2 separate regions of the Homo sapiens genome follow, and region 2 is linked to region 1. Evidence: promoter capture Hi-C in 16 types of primary human blood cells and fetal thymus (Javierre and others, 2016). All regions are on one chromosome and are shown on one strand. Each heading gives the region's core, a stretch centred on a gene start or on the middle of the fragment in contact. The rest is flanking DNA. Distances are from core to core; before and after follow the strand shown.

Region 1 (7,703 bases), core at 35-2,534:
AAGAGTGACTTGGGCAAGATATTTTAGGAAAATGGTTTTGCCTGTAGTGTGTAGATGGAATGAAATCTCTGCGTGTGTATGTGTGCATGTGCATACGTGCACATGCACCAGGAAGCCTGGAGGCAAGGACATTAGTTATAAGATTGTTACAGAGGTTTGGATTAAGTGAAGGGATTAGGAATGGAAAGGAAGTGTCTGGTGGATGGTAAGATATAACCAGGACCTCAATAAAGCCAAGCAATTATTAAAACAAGCATGGTAGTTGTGTCCATAAACATAAAGTCCTAGAATGCAAGCTGATTTAGCGATTTGAGATAGTAAGTATATTTTAATTTAAACGGAGTCTCTTTATTTTTGAATTTGCATATACTTTTCTTCCCTCTTCTTATTCCTCTGTCAATACCTCGCACTTATTCTTCCTTTCCGCAATCCCTCTCTTTTAATTTGATCACAAATTAATCTCTTGTATGTATTTACAGGAGGAAACCAATGGCAAACGTTGTGTATGGTTGCAAGGATGAGTTTCTCCCCCTTGAAAATATCCATTCGCATAGAAATGGGAGGCACAGTGACCAACTCTTGCTTCTTAGCAGGTCTAACATGACCTTCAAAACTCCGTAGGACATACTGGTCTTTGGCGGGGCAGCATCTCCCGTCAGACTCAGGCTGGCTGGGTTTCTCACAGCTGCCTGGATGTGTGTGACTCGCAGCTCTAAGGACAGAATTGCCAAAGCAATACAAAAACACGGACGAAAAGCAAGCCACAAAACCCCATGCCTTACACATTAGGCTGATGAGTGAAGTCGCGGAAGGTGGCTCTGCTCTTGCCCTTTTAAAATTCCAGTGCAGCAAACACACACACACACACCCGCTCGGTTCTTCCCATTCCCGCCACACTGCACCAGCTTCCGTCCCCAAGTCCTGATTCATGAACCGTGCCACCTTTGTCTCATTTTAAACTGTGCAGACTATTTTAATCTTGCCACCCCCATCCCAGATTTCCCCCTCCCTTCATCCTCTGGAAGCTCTGATGTAAAGCGCTTGCTAGGTGGGAGAGCGCTTCTCCCAATCCGCTCGGGTAGGCGAGTTTCCGAGAAGCCCCCTCCCCGGGACCCCGCCGCGAGCGCGGGGGAAGCGCCTCGGTCCCTTTAAGGTGCCGCGCTCTCCGAAGTGCGGGCAGGGAGCCTGGGCGCCGGCGCGGGTCCTGGAGCCGGGTGGGGAAGTCCTGCGCCCTCCCCCTCCGTCCGCAGCCCAGCCTCGGGGGCCAGCCCCCTCCGCCCACCGCACACGGGCTGGCCATGCGGCGGCTCTGAACGATGTCCTCCTCCTCCTACGCCAAGAACGGGACCGCGGACGGGCCGCACTCCCCCACCTCGCAGGTACCGCCCCCTCCTCCCCCTTCTCCTCTTCCTCCTCTTCCTTCCTCACACCTCCTCCGCCGCCCTAGCGCGCCCCGCCTTCGTGCCGGGCGTGCGGGGCCCCAGTCCCGGGAGTCGGCGGCCCCGCTCCCCCCACCCCTCCTCCACGTCCCTTTCTCCTCCCGCTCCTCCTCTTTCTCCTCCTTCTCTTCCTCCTCCTCCTCACCCTCCTTCGGGTCTCTGCGCTCCCGCTCCGGAGCCCGCAGCCTCCCCCAGCGGATGCCGGGGACTCGGACCCCGCACCCTGAGAGTCTTTGTTAATGGATGTGGTGGGTGCTTGCGGGCTGCTCTTCTCGAGCATCTTTTCAGCAGTCGAGGCTTGCAGTGGGTGGGTGGGGGTGGGGGCTGTATTTGGGAGTCGCGGAGGAGACTTGGGTGCGGGCTCTAGGGGACCCCAGGGAGCGGGTCCGGAGGCGGACTCCAGCCGGGGGTGGTCGCCCCGCTCTGCGCTGCGGTCCTCACCGGCTTCTCTCTGGCCCCCGTGTGTCGAGTCCAGGTGGCCCGAGGCACCACAACCCGGAGGAGCAGGTTGAAAAGATCCGATGGCAGCACCACTTCGACCAGCTTCATCCTCAGACAGGTATGAGAAGGAGGCGGGAGACCAGGATGGGGAGGAGGCCGAGCGCGCGGCGCGGGGGTCCTGGAGCCGGCCGTGGCCCACACGTGCGGGAGCTGCGGGTCAAGCCCGCGCGCGTCTCTTCCCGGCCTCGGCCGGTGCTCGGGCTCAGTCCCTCTCCCTCTAGCCTGGGCTCTTGACGTCTTCGCGTCCCGGCGTCTCCGCACCGCCCCGGGAAGTTAGTTTGTGCATGTGTGTGGACAGTTCGGTGGGGACCTGGCTTAAGTCAGGGACGTTGAATTTAAGAGCTGGAAATATGTCTGGTTGTATCTTTGGTGCGTGGAGAAATGTCTTTAATTCGTATAACTCGACCTAGAGTAACCAGACCCCTCGGGGCCGGGGACCTGGTTTGATTCGAGTTGAGATTTAGTGGTTTCTTCTGTTTTGTCCTAATTTGAATACTCTTATCTGTCTGGATCTTGGGAGAGATCGTCAAGCTCCGGTCAAAAGAAAGACACTGAGCAGAAAGTTTACTCTCACTTTAGGACCGCTTCTTGGATTCGCTTAGTTAGGGAAAGACAGCTGTATCTGGTTAAATAGGAATTAACGAAGGCCAGCACTCAGCTCCGGGTCTGGGTGCGCCTTCACTTCGTGTTTGTTTTCTTAGTGCTTGCTTTCTCCTGCGTGGTTCTAGTGCGAATTGTCTGTGCTCGGGATCTCCGGATCGCTGGTAATGCTCAATGCTTAGGTGCCTTTCACCTTGGCACAGGAAATTGGTCCTCAGTTTTCCAACTGTCCATGTGCTGTTAATGAAACCACCCCTGGCTGCTGGGTGCTAGAGAGATCATGCAATGAGTCACCTTGATCTTTCTTTGGAACAGAAATTGTCGGGGTGTGTCCTAGGTTTCGGGTGACCTAGGAAGACATTGGTCATCGCACCAAGAGGCTTTTATCCCAGGTCTTCCTGTGGGCTGCTGGAGTGACCTTGAGAAGTTCTTTTCCCTCTAGGTCACTCAGTATTGTGTAATGTGTTTTCTAACCTATGATGGCAGCTCTGGTGTTTCTTTAGTGATTATCATCAATTTAAACATATCAACGAGGAATTGATATCAAAATTGAACTCAGACCTCTCCTAAAAGGGTCTATAAAGCATATTTAGATGATATTTATTATGCAGAATTTCACTTTCTGCAGAAGCGGAAATTTTGACTACCATTTAATTCAGCGAGCACTAAGCATGTACATTATGGAAATAAATGCATTTTGGATTCCGAATTCATTCTAAAAGTGCATTCTATCCCCTTTGCAGTATTTAGATTATGTATTTGATAAGGCAAACATATTGTTTATCTTAAAAACATTTTTCTGTTATGCAACTGTTTGAGGTCTTGCTGGTGTTTATTTTGTAGGTGCCTATTTTTAGTGGTGTTTCATTGTTGCAAATTCTTGGAAATACTAATTACACAGCAGTTCTTTCCATAAGCTGTTTGACTAAAACTTTTGAGTTCATCTACATAACTGCACTAATGCTTTATTCTTCCTTCCAAGCACAAACAAAATAATATTCTAATATTCTTACTCTTTTCTCAATTTATGCCCGTAACTGATTGAGATGATGTATATATAAGTTCTTGTAAAGCGTGCTGCTATGTGCTGGCTTAAGAAATGTTAAAAGTATTGCATGCTAAATAATTTTGGGAATAATTTAAAGCAAAGTAGATTTTTTTAAATAAATATATTTCATCTATGAAATGGGAATTCATTGGTTTGATTAAATGGTCTAATTTAAATTCAGGAGTTAATTGTAATTGTATTATATACACAATCTTATTTTTCGGCACAAAAATAGTACTTAATTTTTTTCTTTTTTCAGACGGAGTCTTGCTCTGTCGCCCAGGCTGGGGTGCAGTGACGCAGTCTCTGCTTACTGCAAGCTCTGCCTCCTGGGTTCACGCCATTCTCCTGCCTCAGCCTCCCGAGTAGCTGAGACTACAGGCACCCGCCATCACGCCTGGCTAACTTTTTTGTATTTTTAGTGGAGACAGGGTTTCACCGTGTTAGCCAGGATGGTCTTTATCTCCTGACCTCGTGATCTGCCCACCTCATCCTCCCAAAGTGCTGGGATTACAGGCGTGAGCCACCATGCCCGGGCTACTTAATTTTTATGAGCACTTTACAACTCACTGAGTATACTACACATGATCTCATTCAAATGACATCATACAGACTTCTGTATTGGCTACAATAAAAATAACTGAGGGATTTACATTTCTTTGATGAGATAAGGAAAATGATTACAAATGCAGTTTAACAATAACTTTCGGATAAAATTGAAATCACCCCAATGCCAAAAAATATTTTTTATGAAAGCATAACAGCTGCTTACGTTAACAGAGCCTTGGGCTGGTCACAGTGGCTCACGCCTGTAATCCCAGCACTTTGGGAGGCTGAGGTGGGCGGATCACTTGAGGTCAGGAGTTTCAAACCAGCCTGGTAGCATGGTGAAACCCCGACTGTACTAAAAATACAAAGAAATTTGCCAAGCGTGGTGGTGTGTGCTTGTAATCCCAGCTACTCGGGAGGCTGAGGCAGGAGAATTTTTTGAACCTAGGCGGTGGAGGTTGCAGTGAGCCAGTATTGCTCCACAGCATTCCAGCCGGGCGACAGAGCAGGACTCCATCAAACAAACAAACAAACAAAAACAGAGTCTCATTATTTGTAGAATGACCAGTGATTTATTGATATTTGAATTCTTGATACATTGGAGTGATGAAATTTCTTGGTGCTGTTTCACAGTCTTTGTGATGCCTTTGAAGAAGATAGTGGAATACCAAAAAATATATATATTGCTAGTTTCTTTATCATATTATTTACAAAAATATGGAGAAAAGCTTTCATTAAAAAAAAAATCGATGTGTTACATTGGATGGGGAAGACTGGGCTGTTGGTGAAGCAGAGAAGGCAGTTGGCAACTCACCCAATAAGACAATATTTGTTCTTTGAGCTTGTTAAAAAGTTTCAGTGTTTCTGAGACTATATATGCACATATGTGTGCATGCACACACATGAACATTTGAATTGGCTGGAAAACAAGCAGACTGAGAAAGAGAGCCTGCTTCCACTCTGAGGACTGCTCATGAAGCCCCTCAGGAATCTTTGACCTTGTTTCTGGTCTACAAGATTTCTGGCTTCCACCATTTAGGAGGGATGGAGGTTTTGGAATGAATCCAGGGAGCAAATAAATGGCTTCTTTGAGGAAAGGTGAGAAGATGAAGTACTTTGCCGCTGAAAGGAAAGAAAGCTAGGAGTGACCCAGAAATGATCTTCAAAGTACACACAAAGGCTTTCTTTGGAAATGTGATGAAGTGTTCTCACTCTTCATTGGGGATGAAACTCAAGAACTGGCCCAAATTAGAAAGGAATGATGTTTTACAGCAAGACCTTCCTAAGAGTGTTGCCATCATTGGAGTGGCTTTCCAAATGAGGCCATAGAATTTTCTTTCAGGAGAGCCCTTCTTACAGGCTATTTATGAATGGATTATCTAGTCATATTTTAAAGTTTTAGGAAACACTTAAGTATTTGCTATGTGCCTAGCACTATGTTAGATATTGTAGGGGAGGAATGAAAAGATGGATGAGACACAGCCCCTGTACTCAAAGATTTTTATAATCTAGCAATGGAGACAGAGATGTCTACAAACAGTACGGTGACATGTAACAAGGAACGAGAGGGCGGGCTCAATGACCATGTACCCCGAGTATCTATTATATATCCATAAGTATATCTACCCATGGGTGTCACTACACATACAGTTTATACGGCTGAGTACTCCAAGTTAGTCCTCTTCCCACTGGGGTTTGAAGAGAAAATCTGATCAGAGTGGGAATAGTTTGTTGACTTTTCCTTGTTAAGTCTGCTCTTATGAGGCCAGCAAAGTCATACCTGGCCTGGCCCCTGCCTGCTTCCAGCCTCATCTTGAGCCATGATCTCTTAGCTCTGGACACAGAGTTTGAACACACTGTCTTCCCTCTTGCCACTGGTCCTTTGCATATGCTGAGCCCTCTGTGTGGCAGGTTGTTGTCCTTCCTTCTGCCTAGTTAACTTTTAATCTTCCCTGAGATCTGGGGGTTTAGTCTTCACTTCCTCTTCTAACCTTCCTGATAAAGTCAGTTCCCCAACAAGGGGCTCCCAGAGGGCCTTGTGCCAGTTTTCAGTAGCACCACCGCTTTTATTTAACATGTACTTAGATTTCTCTGTTACATTCTGTCTCCCCATCCGTATGAGTTCCACAAGGACAGGGACATGTCTGCATTTGATCTTTGTGTCCTCAGCATCTAGCATAGTATATGTTCAATAAACACACACTTGAATGAATGAAGCAGTGGATGGATGGAGAACTAACTTGATATATTTTAGGCATGAGGTTCTGCTCCAACATTAAATGCTTTGTTTAGTGGGGAGAAATTGCCTCCTAACCTCCCCCAAAACTCTGTGGCTTGAAACAACAACAATTTTTTATTTCTGTGTACTAACCAGACAGTTCTGCATTGTATGATGTTATATGGGCACTGGGATGGCTGGAAGGTCCAGAGTGGCCTCACACATGTGGTTGGCAGTTGGTGCTGGCTGCTGGCTGAGAACTCAACTAGAGCTTTTGGCAGCGGCTCAGTTTTTCTCCACCTGGGCCTCTCAACATGGTTGCTTGAGCTCCCGGATAATATGGTGGCTAGGTTCCAAGAAGTGAAGGCTGAAGCCACAGCTCTCCTAAGACCCAGTTTTGAAAGCTACACTGTATCACTTGTCTTGCAAACTCAAGTCAAAACAGGTCCAAGAGCCTGCTCAGTTGCAACAAAAGAGAAAACAGACTATCTTTTGATGGGGTGCAACAAGGTCACGTTATAAAAGAGCATATGGGTAAAAATACACACACACACACACACACACACACACACCAAAAAACAGCAAGTCAAATTCAGTGCCAATAGTATAAACAGGAATGTAAAGATTATTCAATTTATATAACAAATTAAAGAAAAATATATGTTGATTTCAGTAGGTGCCAAAAAAGTATTTGATAAATTTTGTAAGTTAAGAATAGAGCATATCTAGAGGCACGTGATTTTAAAAAAAGAAGAGAAGGCAGCTCCCTAAATCTAATAAAAATTATCTACTAAAATCCACAGCAAACATCACACTGAGCAGAGAAACTAGAAACAATATATGTATGCAGCAGTCAGTAAATGAGCAAATAATGTACATTGGGGCCCTCATCCATATTTTTGCATTCCCTGGTTTCAGTTACCTGCGGTCAACTGAGGTCTGAATGTAGGTGAGTACAGTACAGTAGCTATTTTGAGAATGAGAAAGAGACTACATTTCATATAACTTTTATTATGACATATTGTTAACATTGTTCTGTTTTATTATTAGTTGTTATTAATCTCTTACTGTGCCTAATTTACAAATTAGACTTCATCTTAGGTATATATGTATAGGAAAAAACATTATATATATATATGTATATATATGTAAATGTATATATGGTTTGTTACTATCTGTAGTTCCAGGCATCCACTGGGGTCTTGGAATGTATCCCCCACGGTTAAGGGTGGACTACTATATATTATACTACAGAGTACTATTCAGCCATTAAAGAAAAAAATAAAGCCACCCTGCGTGTAATGATATGGAAATGCATTTAAGACATTCATTTGAAATGCATTCAAGT
Region 2 (7,625 bases), core at 4,182-6,681, 53 kb after region 1:
AAGGTCGGGGGAGTGGAGGGATTGGGGAGTGACTGGTAAAGGGAACAGAGTTGTTTAGTTTGCTGTGGCTGCCATGACAAATTACCATAGATGGGTGGCTTAAACAACAGAAAGTTACTTTTCAAAGTTCTGGAGGCTGAAAGTCCATGATACTGGTACCAGCATGTTTGGGTTCTTGTTGAAAGCCCTCTTTCAGTTTGCAGACAACTGTCTTCTTCTTGTACTTTCACATCCTCACATGGCTGAGAGCAGAGAGAGAGGAAGCAAGCCCTCTCCTGTCTCTTCTTAGAAGGACGCTAACCCCATCAGGAGGGCTTCACCCTCATGATCTGATCACCTCCTGAGCGCTCCATCTCCAAATGCCATCACACTGGAGATTAGGGCTTAACATATGTATTTTGTGGGGACATATTCAGTCCATACCAAGTATTTCTCTTTGGGGTAATTAAAATAATCTAAAACTGGTTGTGGTGATAGTTGCAGCACAACTCTGAATATACTAAACTGTTGATTATGCACTTTAAATGGGTGAATTGAATGGTATGTGAATTATATTTCAATAATACTGTTCAAAAAAAAAGTTGATAGTAAAAAGCCAAAGGGAAAGCTGGGCCGCTGGGTAGGGATGGGGGGCGGTCAAGGAAAAGGACCTCCCTGGGTAAATTTCTTCACCAGTCACCTGTCTCTCCATTAGGTCATTGTATGTGGTTTTTGAGGGTTTTTTTCTGTGGTTGGTGGTGGTGTTTTAGAAAAAGTGGATGTGGGCTGGGCCCAGCGGCTCACATCTGTAATCCCAGCACTTGGGAGGCCGAGGTGCGCAGATCACTTAAGCTCAGGGGTTCAAGACCAGCCTGGGCAACATGGTGAAACCTTGTGTCAATAAAAAAAATTAGCTGGATGTGGTGACGTGCACCTGTAGTCCCAGCTACCTGGGGACCTGAGGCAGAAGGATCACTTGAACCCGGTAGATCGAGATCGAGGCTGCAGTGAGCCAAGATTGTGCCACTGCACTCCAGCCTGGGTGACAAAGTGAGACCCTGTCTCAAAACAAACAAACAAACAAGCAGAAAAACCCCACAAGTGGATATGCCTGCATTAAAAAAAAATTTTTTTTAGAGACAGAGTCTTGCTCTGTCACACAGGCCGGAGTGCAATGGCACAATCATGGCTCACTGCAGCCTCAAGCTTCAGGGGTTAAGTGATCCTCCTACCTCAGCTTCCCAAAGAGCTGGGATTGCAGGTGTGAGCCGCTGCACTGGTCTTGCATTTTCCTTTCCTCTACCAAACCTGGCTCCATTTGCTTGTTAAAAAAGCAGTGAGCATTAGTGGAATGTTAATGGTCTGAACGACTTTAACTTTCCATCTGGCTGTTACTCTCCAGGAAGTCTCTTTTCATTTGATTGCAACTGATTAGAGGTTCTTGTTCATGTTGCATTTGATGTGGCTCATTTAGAGTAAATCTAGTGGGTGATTTTCTCTCCTCTTATGTCCAGCATTCCAAAGAGCTCTCTTTTAGAGGTTGTGTCCGCTTCATCAATAGCAGATGATCACATTTCTGACCAGCCAGTGTGCCAAAAGGATGGAAGGCAAAGTGAGGGCTGAATTGTGTGTGGGAGAACCCGGAAACTTTCTTTCCTCGTCTTTACGTGACAGGCAGCGGGCCCAGCACACTATGTCACTTTGGAAAGTCATCTGTCCAGGGCAGCTGTGATAATGGTATTTCACAAAAAACCTGGGGCTTTCACCCAACATGCCAAATGCCAGCTTGGCCAAGATACATCCACTCAGCAGACTGACCCATGCTGGGATTCTGCAGACCAGATTAAAACATTTGGGTGTCCCATCTCCATACTGTGGTCTGGTTGGTTGAGATGCAGTTGCCTTGCAGACAAGTCGACACATTTGGCCCTCAGTAGAAGTTCCTCACTGTAGGTTAATGACAGTCACCAGTCAAACCAACATGGTCTTAACTTGAACGCTCTAAAAGGAATAAAATGGTTTCTTTTATTGGTTTATCAATTCATAGCCTAAAAGAGGAAGTTAGCTTGTCGCCTGGGCACCTGTGTAAGCCCTTGCTGCTCCATGTGGAAGATTCATGCTTTAGAACACAGCCTTTCTTTCTTTCTGTAGATTCGGATATTATAGGGAGACAGAATCTAGGGCTGTGGCTGGTGACCTACTTCCTTCTTATGGTGAAGAAGGTCAGGGAGAGAGAGAAAATGAGGAAGGGAGAAGAAAAAAAGGAAAGAAGGAAAGAGAGAGAGTGAGCAAGAGAGCCACAGAAAAATAATCATTATAATGAATGAGAAGAAATAAAGGGATCTGAAAAAAGAATGAGAAGGAGAAATACGGTTGTGAAACGAGAGGGAAAGAGAATGCAGGCCGGGTGCAGTGGCTCACGCCTGTAATCCCAGCTCTTTGGGAGGCTGAGGCGGGCACATCACTTGAGGTCAGGAGTTCCAACATGGCAAAACCCCATCTCTACTGAAAATAAAAAAATTAGCCAGTACTGGTGGCATGCACCTGTAATCCCAGCTACCTGGGTGGCTGGGGCAAGAGAATTGCTTGAACCTGGGAGGTGGAGGTTGCAGTGAGCCGAGATTGTGCCACTGTACTCCAGCCTGGGCAACAGAGTGAGACTCAAAACAAAAAAAAGTTTAAAAAAAAAAAAGAGAGAATGCAAATGGGGGAGAGAATGGTATCAAGGTATGAACAGGAAAACAAGTTATGATGGGTAAAGATATAGGGAGTGCTGAAAAACATACAAGGCTACCGCTTATGAATTCTTCCTTCTTTATCCTAGAAATTGCAATTGATTGTTACCAATGGCCTGGAGCTTGCATATTTCTCTTAAAAACCTAGCTCATGCCCTCTCTTGTGCACACCATACAGTCACCTGAGAGTATTCCAGTGCTTTCTTTGGTTCTTCTGCCTCCATCTGCTCTCTTCTTTCTTTTACCCTCCCCAACAGTTGGTCCCTAAAATAGTAGTACTTTAGATCTAGAAGCAACCTCAGAGAAGGGCTAAGATTTGGCTCTTTCACTTTACAGCTGAAGAAAAAGAAATCCAGCAAAATTAAATGATTTGCCCAAGGTCCTATAACCAGTGGACTGCAAGGCTGGACTAGAGGGCAGAGTTTCCATCCCATGGGTGCAGGCCAGGTCCTGAGGGACACGCTTCTCTCTGTAGAGAGCTGTCTCTCCTGCTCACATCCTGGGTAAATCCTTATTGGCAAAGAATAAGGTGGGAGAGAAGGTGGCCAACAAAGTGCTAGCTCTGCCAACTTCTCTCATCGTCAGGAGACAAGTGTTGCAGGTACTTTTTATTCTCTCCCTTTTAGTGTGGGGATGAAGTGGAGGCCAGTTGGTTTCCTATTGGACAGATTCTCTTTCTCCCTTGGATTCTGCCTGGCCGTCTGCTGATGGCCCCTTCTGGATGTAACACATGTTATCTGGAATAGCGCAGGTGGGGATGGGTGAAGAGCATTCAGATAGAAGTTTCTGATGGTAGTGGGCAGCAGGGTGGAATCTCACTTTAACCCACGGGTTCTCAGCTGGGGTGATTTTGCCCCCCAGGGAACTTTTGGTAATGTCTAGAGGCATTTTTTGTTGTTACATCTAGGGGGTGCTAGTGAGTAGTACATCTAGTGAGTAGAGACCAGGGATGCTGTCAGACATTCTCCAATGCACAGACAGCCCACCATAACAAAGAGTCATCTGGTCCACGATGTCAGCAGTGTTACCCAACTGAACTTGAGTCCTCTCACCCAGCATGCACAAAAATCCAAACACTGATACTAGGATTTGCAGGGAGAGAAAGTTAGGCGTTTGTGGCAGGGTGCCAAACAGAGAATTGAGCAGCGAATGCTTAAGACCTGAACTCTCCAATAGCTTACAAGCAAGAGATGTTTTGTTTTGTTTTGTTTTGTTTTTGAAACAGGGTCTTGCCTTGTCACCCAGGCTGGAGTGGAGTGGCTCAATCTCAGCTCACTGCAACCTCCACTTCCCAGGTTCAAGCAATTCACCTGCCTCAGACTCCTGAGTAGCTGAGATTACAGGTGCCTGCCACCATGCCCAGCTAATTTTTGTATTTTTAGTAGAGATAGGGTTTTAATTTACTGTGTTGGTCACACTGGTCTCAAACTCCTGACCTCAAGTGATCAGACTTCCTTGGCCTCTCAAAGTGCTGGGATTACAGGCGTGAGCCACCGTGCCTGGCTACAACTGAGGGGTTTTAGTTTTAAAGGCAGGGGTTCATTTCAAGAAAGCAGAAGTTACAAGCATAATCGTAAATCAATACATGGGTATTATACACTGGTTTGGCCCAAAAAGATGGGATATCTTGAAGTGAAGGTTACAGGTCGTATGTGGATTCAAAGATTTTTTGATTTGCAATTGGTTAAGGAAGTAAGAATTCATCTGAAAACTTGGGGTCAGCAGGAAGGAATGTCAGGGTTTGGCCTGTGGGCATAACTCTCTCTAGGCCCCTCAGGAAGAAATTGACAACAAAGAACTGTCCTCAGGGTTCAGTCTTCATTTCCCCCTTATTTGAGGTCTGTGTGACAGCGGTTGACATTTTCCATCTGGTAAGGGTTTGGGTTTCTGAAAAACGACTCAGGGACATATGTCAAGATGTTATTTTTAGTTTCTATAGGGAACCAAGCATCTCGTGAGTCTAATGTACTTGGGTGACTATTGTTACGCTATTTTTACCTTCTTGCTTAGCAGGTTATTTATTCATTTCCTTAGTTGCTGGCTGCATGGCTAGCTAGGTACCCAGAATTTCCCTTGAAGGGACTCAAATTTTTCTTTATTTTCAGGCTGAGAGGAAGCTGGGGAGGCCCCTAAGAGGGATCCCTACTCCATCTCAATAATGTTGAGGTGAAGAAATTTCACTTTGCCTGAATCTTTTTTTAGCAGAAGTTCAGTGCTCATAGCCCAGGATAGTCAGAGACCCTTTTTCCTAACTGGGTGGTAGCGCCTGGAGACAGTTCAGTGCAGATACTTGAGCTTGGACAAGCTGCCTGTGATGATAACCCTGTGATGAATTTCAGGGTTAATTAATTTAAAAAGTCAAGGTTTGCTGAAAACCAGGCAGAATTCTCATCTCCTTTCCCCTGGCTACAGCTCAACAGGCAGAGCTTACCTGCTTCTCCTCTGCTTAGGGCGACATCTTAAAAGGGCAGAAATAAGGACTGTCTTAGGTGTGGACTTCCAGTGGTCAAAGTGTAGTGCTGAATAGATAGAACTCTGTGAGTAGTCACGGTGGAGAATTAAACCAGAAAGGAAATGAGGGTGAGATGGAAGGAGGAGAGACAGATTTTATAAAAGGCAAAATAGATTCTCCTGTTTGCAGCAGTCAAGTTGAAACCAGCCATAGCTGTAGGCAAGAAATTATAGAGAGATTATCATCTTAGTGATTGTTCTGTAAAATTGCTCTAGGCCAAAGGTGCTGCTTTCACATTTTTGTAATTTAACCTCTTTTTACCTTCCTGAGCCACAGTGTGCATTTGTGTTTCTAATAAGCTGTCTTTTTCCAGGAAGGAATTTTGGTGATGTTTCTGCCTGTGCTCACATATAGAAAAGGGGTGCTACGTGTTCTGGGCCATTCTAGCCTCCCCTGAATGGACAATCCATATGATATAAAAATATACTGTTATATAATCAGAGTTTCCAGGTAAAATAATTGCCACTTCCTTCTTAATAACTCATTTTTGTTCTTGTTTATCTAAAAAGCTAACTAATGTTGATTTTATTTCTATATGATCAATTTATTTTTCTCTTATTATAATAGAGGTTGTTATTAAAGAAAAAGTTTTCCATCCTTCCATTGATTCTCAGTTACTCTAAGGACCAAGACTTGTTGATTTCCAATCTGCCTACATTCTAGCTCATTTATCAGAACTTTTCATCCCCTCTATTTCAAGCTATGTTCTAAAAAAATCTTTCCAACTGTTCATTACTTGTGTTTTTTTCCTTTTCATTGAATCTGCAAATGTTTAATGAATCCCTGCTAGCTGCGAGTCACTGTATTTAGAGCTGCGGGATGCACAGCTATGCCTAAGGTACCGTCTGAACTCTCTTGGAACTGTAGGACTGGGAATTCCAGTCTGTGCTCTTGGAGGTTGCGTGAGGGAGAGGGAGAAGAGGCTACTTATAAGACTTTGAGGGTGTACTTTGATCCACCTTTTCATTCCTTGTCTTTTTTTTTTTAAAATGTGGTAAAATATCCATAACATTTACCATTTTCACCATTTTTAAGTATACATTCAATGGCACTAAGTACATTAGATGCAGAATTTTTGCTCCTCCTCCCAGCTCCTGGTGACCACTCTTCTACTTTCTGTCTCCATAAATTTGACTACTGTAGGTAGCTCATATAAATGGAATCACACAATATTTGTCCTTTTGTGACTGCTTATTTCACGTAGCATGATATCCTCAAGGTTCATCCATGTCATAGCATGAGACAGGATTTCCTTCCTTTTTAAGGCTAGATAATATTCTGTTGTATGTATATACCACATTGTCTTTAGCTACTCCTCTGTTGATGGACACTTGGACTGTTTCTACCTTTTGGCTACTGTGACTAACGCTGCTGTAAACACTGGTATATTCCCAGTCCTTATCTTTAAAAGCATATCTGCATGTGAAAGCACTGAAAAAAAATTGGCCAATGATGCCTCTCCATATCCATACATATGTACATGTATTTATGTAGTTGTATGTGCTAGGCATAGTTATGTGGTGGCAATCATTTTTTTTCTGGCTTGAAATTGTAAGCCAGACCAATATCATCTCATGCCCTTGCTTCACATCCTCCTTTCTCTCCACTAAATCTCTCTCCTCCGCCCCACCAACCCCCCACCGTCTCTTCCCCATCTTCTCTTTCCCCTGCTTCAATTCAGTTTAGCACACTTTTATTATTGTTAACTTTTTGGGTGCAAAGTGCTCTGGAAATTTTGAAGAATGAAACTGGCCTTGGGTTTTTCATGGTCTCTTATTGGAGACGAGACCCACGGTAGCAGTTGAGTGAGTCAGGCTGTGGACCTGCCATGGTGGCCAGGCTCATGAAAGGATGGCAAAGATGAGGGAAAACTCATTCCAGCCAAAGAAAATGACCCAAACAAAGGGTGTGGGATGGAAAATATTGGACATATTTCATTTTAAGTAGTTTTTATTTGTATGTGGCCTTTAAATGTTTTTAATTATTAGGATGTGCTTGATAAATTCCCTACCTGGGAGTAATAGTGATTTCTCCACCCTGTGTTGTAGATTTTATATAGAAAATTTCCCTTTAATAATTTGCTTTAAGGCCGGGTGCGGTGGCTCACGCCTGTAATCCCAGCACTTTGGGAGGCTGAGGCAGGCGGATCACAAGGTCAGGAGTTCCAGACCAGCCTGACCAACATGGTGAAACCCCATCTCTACTAAAATACAAAAATCAGCCATGCATGGTGATGCGCACCTGTAATCCCAGCTACTCAGGAGACTGAGGCAGGAGAATTGCTTGAACCTGGGAGGCGGAGCTTGCAGTGAGCCAAGATTGCTCCACTGCACTCCAACCTGGGCGACAGAGCAAGACTCCGTCTCAGAAAAATAAAATAAAAATAAAAATAAATAAAA

What was found. Contacts are between HindIII fragments. The CHiCAGO score rates a contact against its expected background, and 5 or more counts as called.
Region 2: a fragment that was not itself captured here is called in contact with the fragment with the promoter of CACNB4 in region 1 in 1 of 17 cell types (M2 macrophages); the score reaches 6.6 in M2 macrophages.

The regions. Positions count from the first base shown.
Region 1 is chr2:152,092,625-152,100,327 of GRCh38, reverse strand. It overlaps CACNB4 (calcium voltage-gated channel auxiliary subunit beta 4), which reads left to right and starts at 1,284. Exons shown (of 14, transcript NM_000726.5): 1 at 1,284-1,379; 2 at 1,915-1,998. The coding sequence starts at 1,317. RefSeq lists a silencer at 1,086-1,375. The HindIII fragment of the contact is 7,735 bases long and covers 1-4,867 here.
Region 2 is chr2:152,044,206-152,051,830 of GRCh38, reverse strand. All of the region lies in intron 2 of CACNB4 (calcium voltage-gated channel auxiliary subunit beta 4), which reads left to right. Among named protein-coding and RNA genes, the nearest start is that of CACNB4, 51 kb to the left of the region's middle. RefSeq lists enhancers at 48-227, 348-427, 1,088-1,709. The HindIII fragment of the contact is 8,488 bases long and covers 1,188-7,625 here.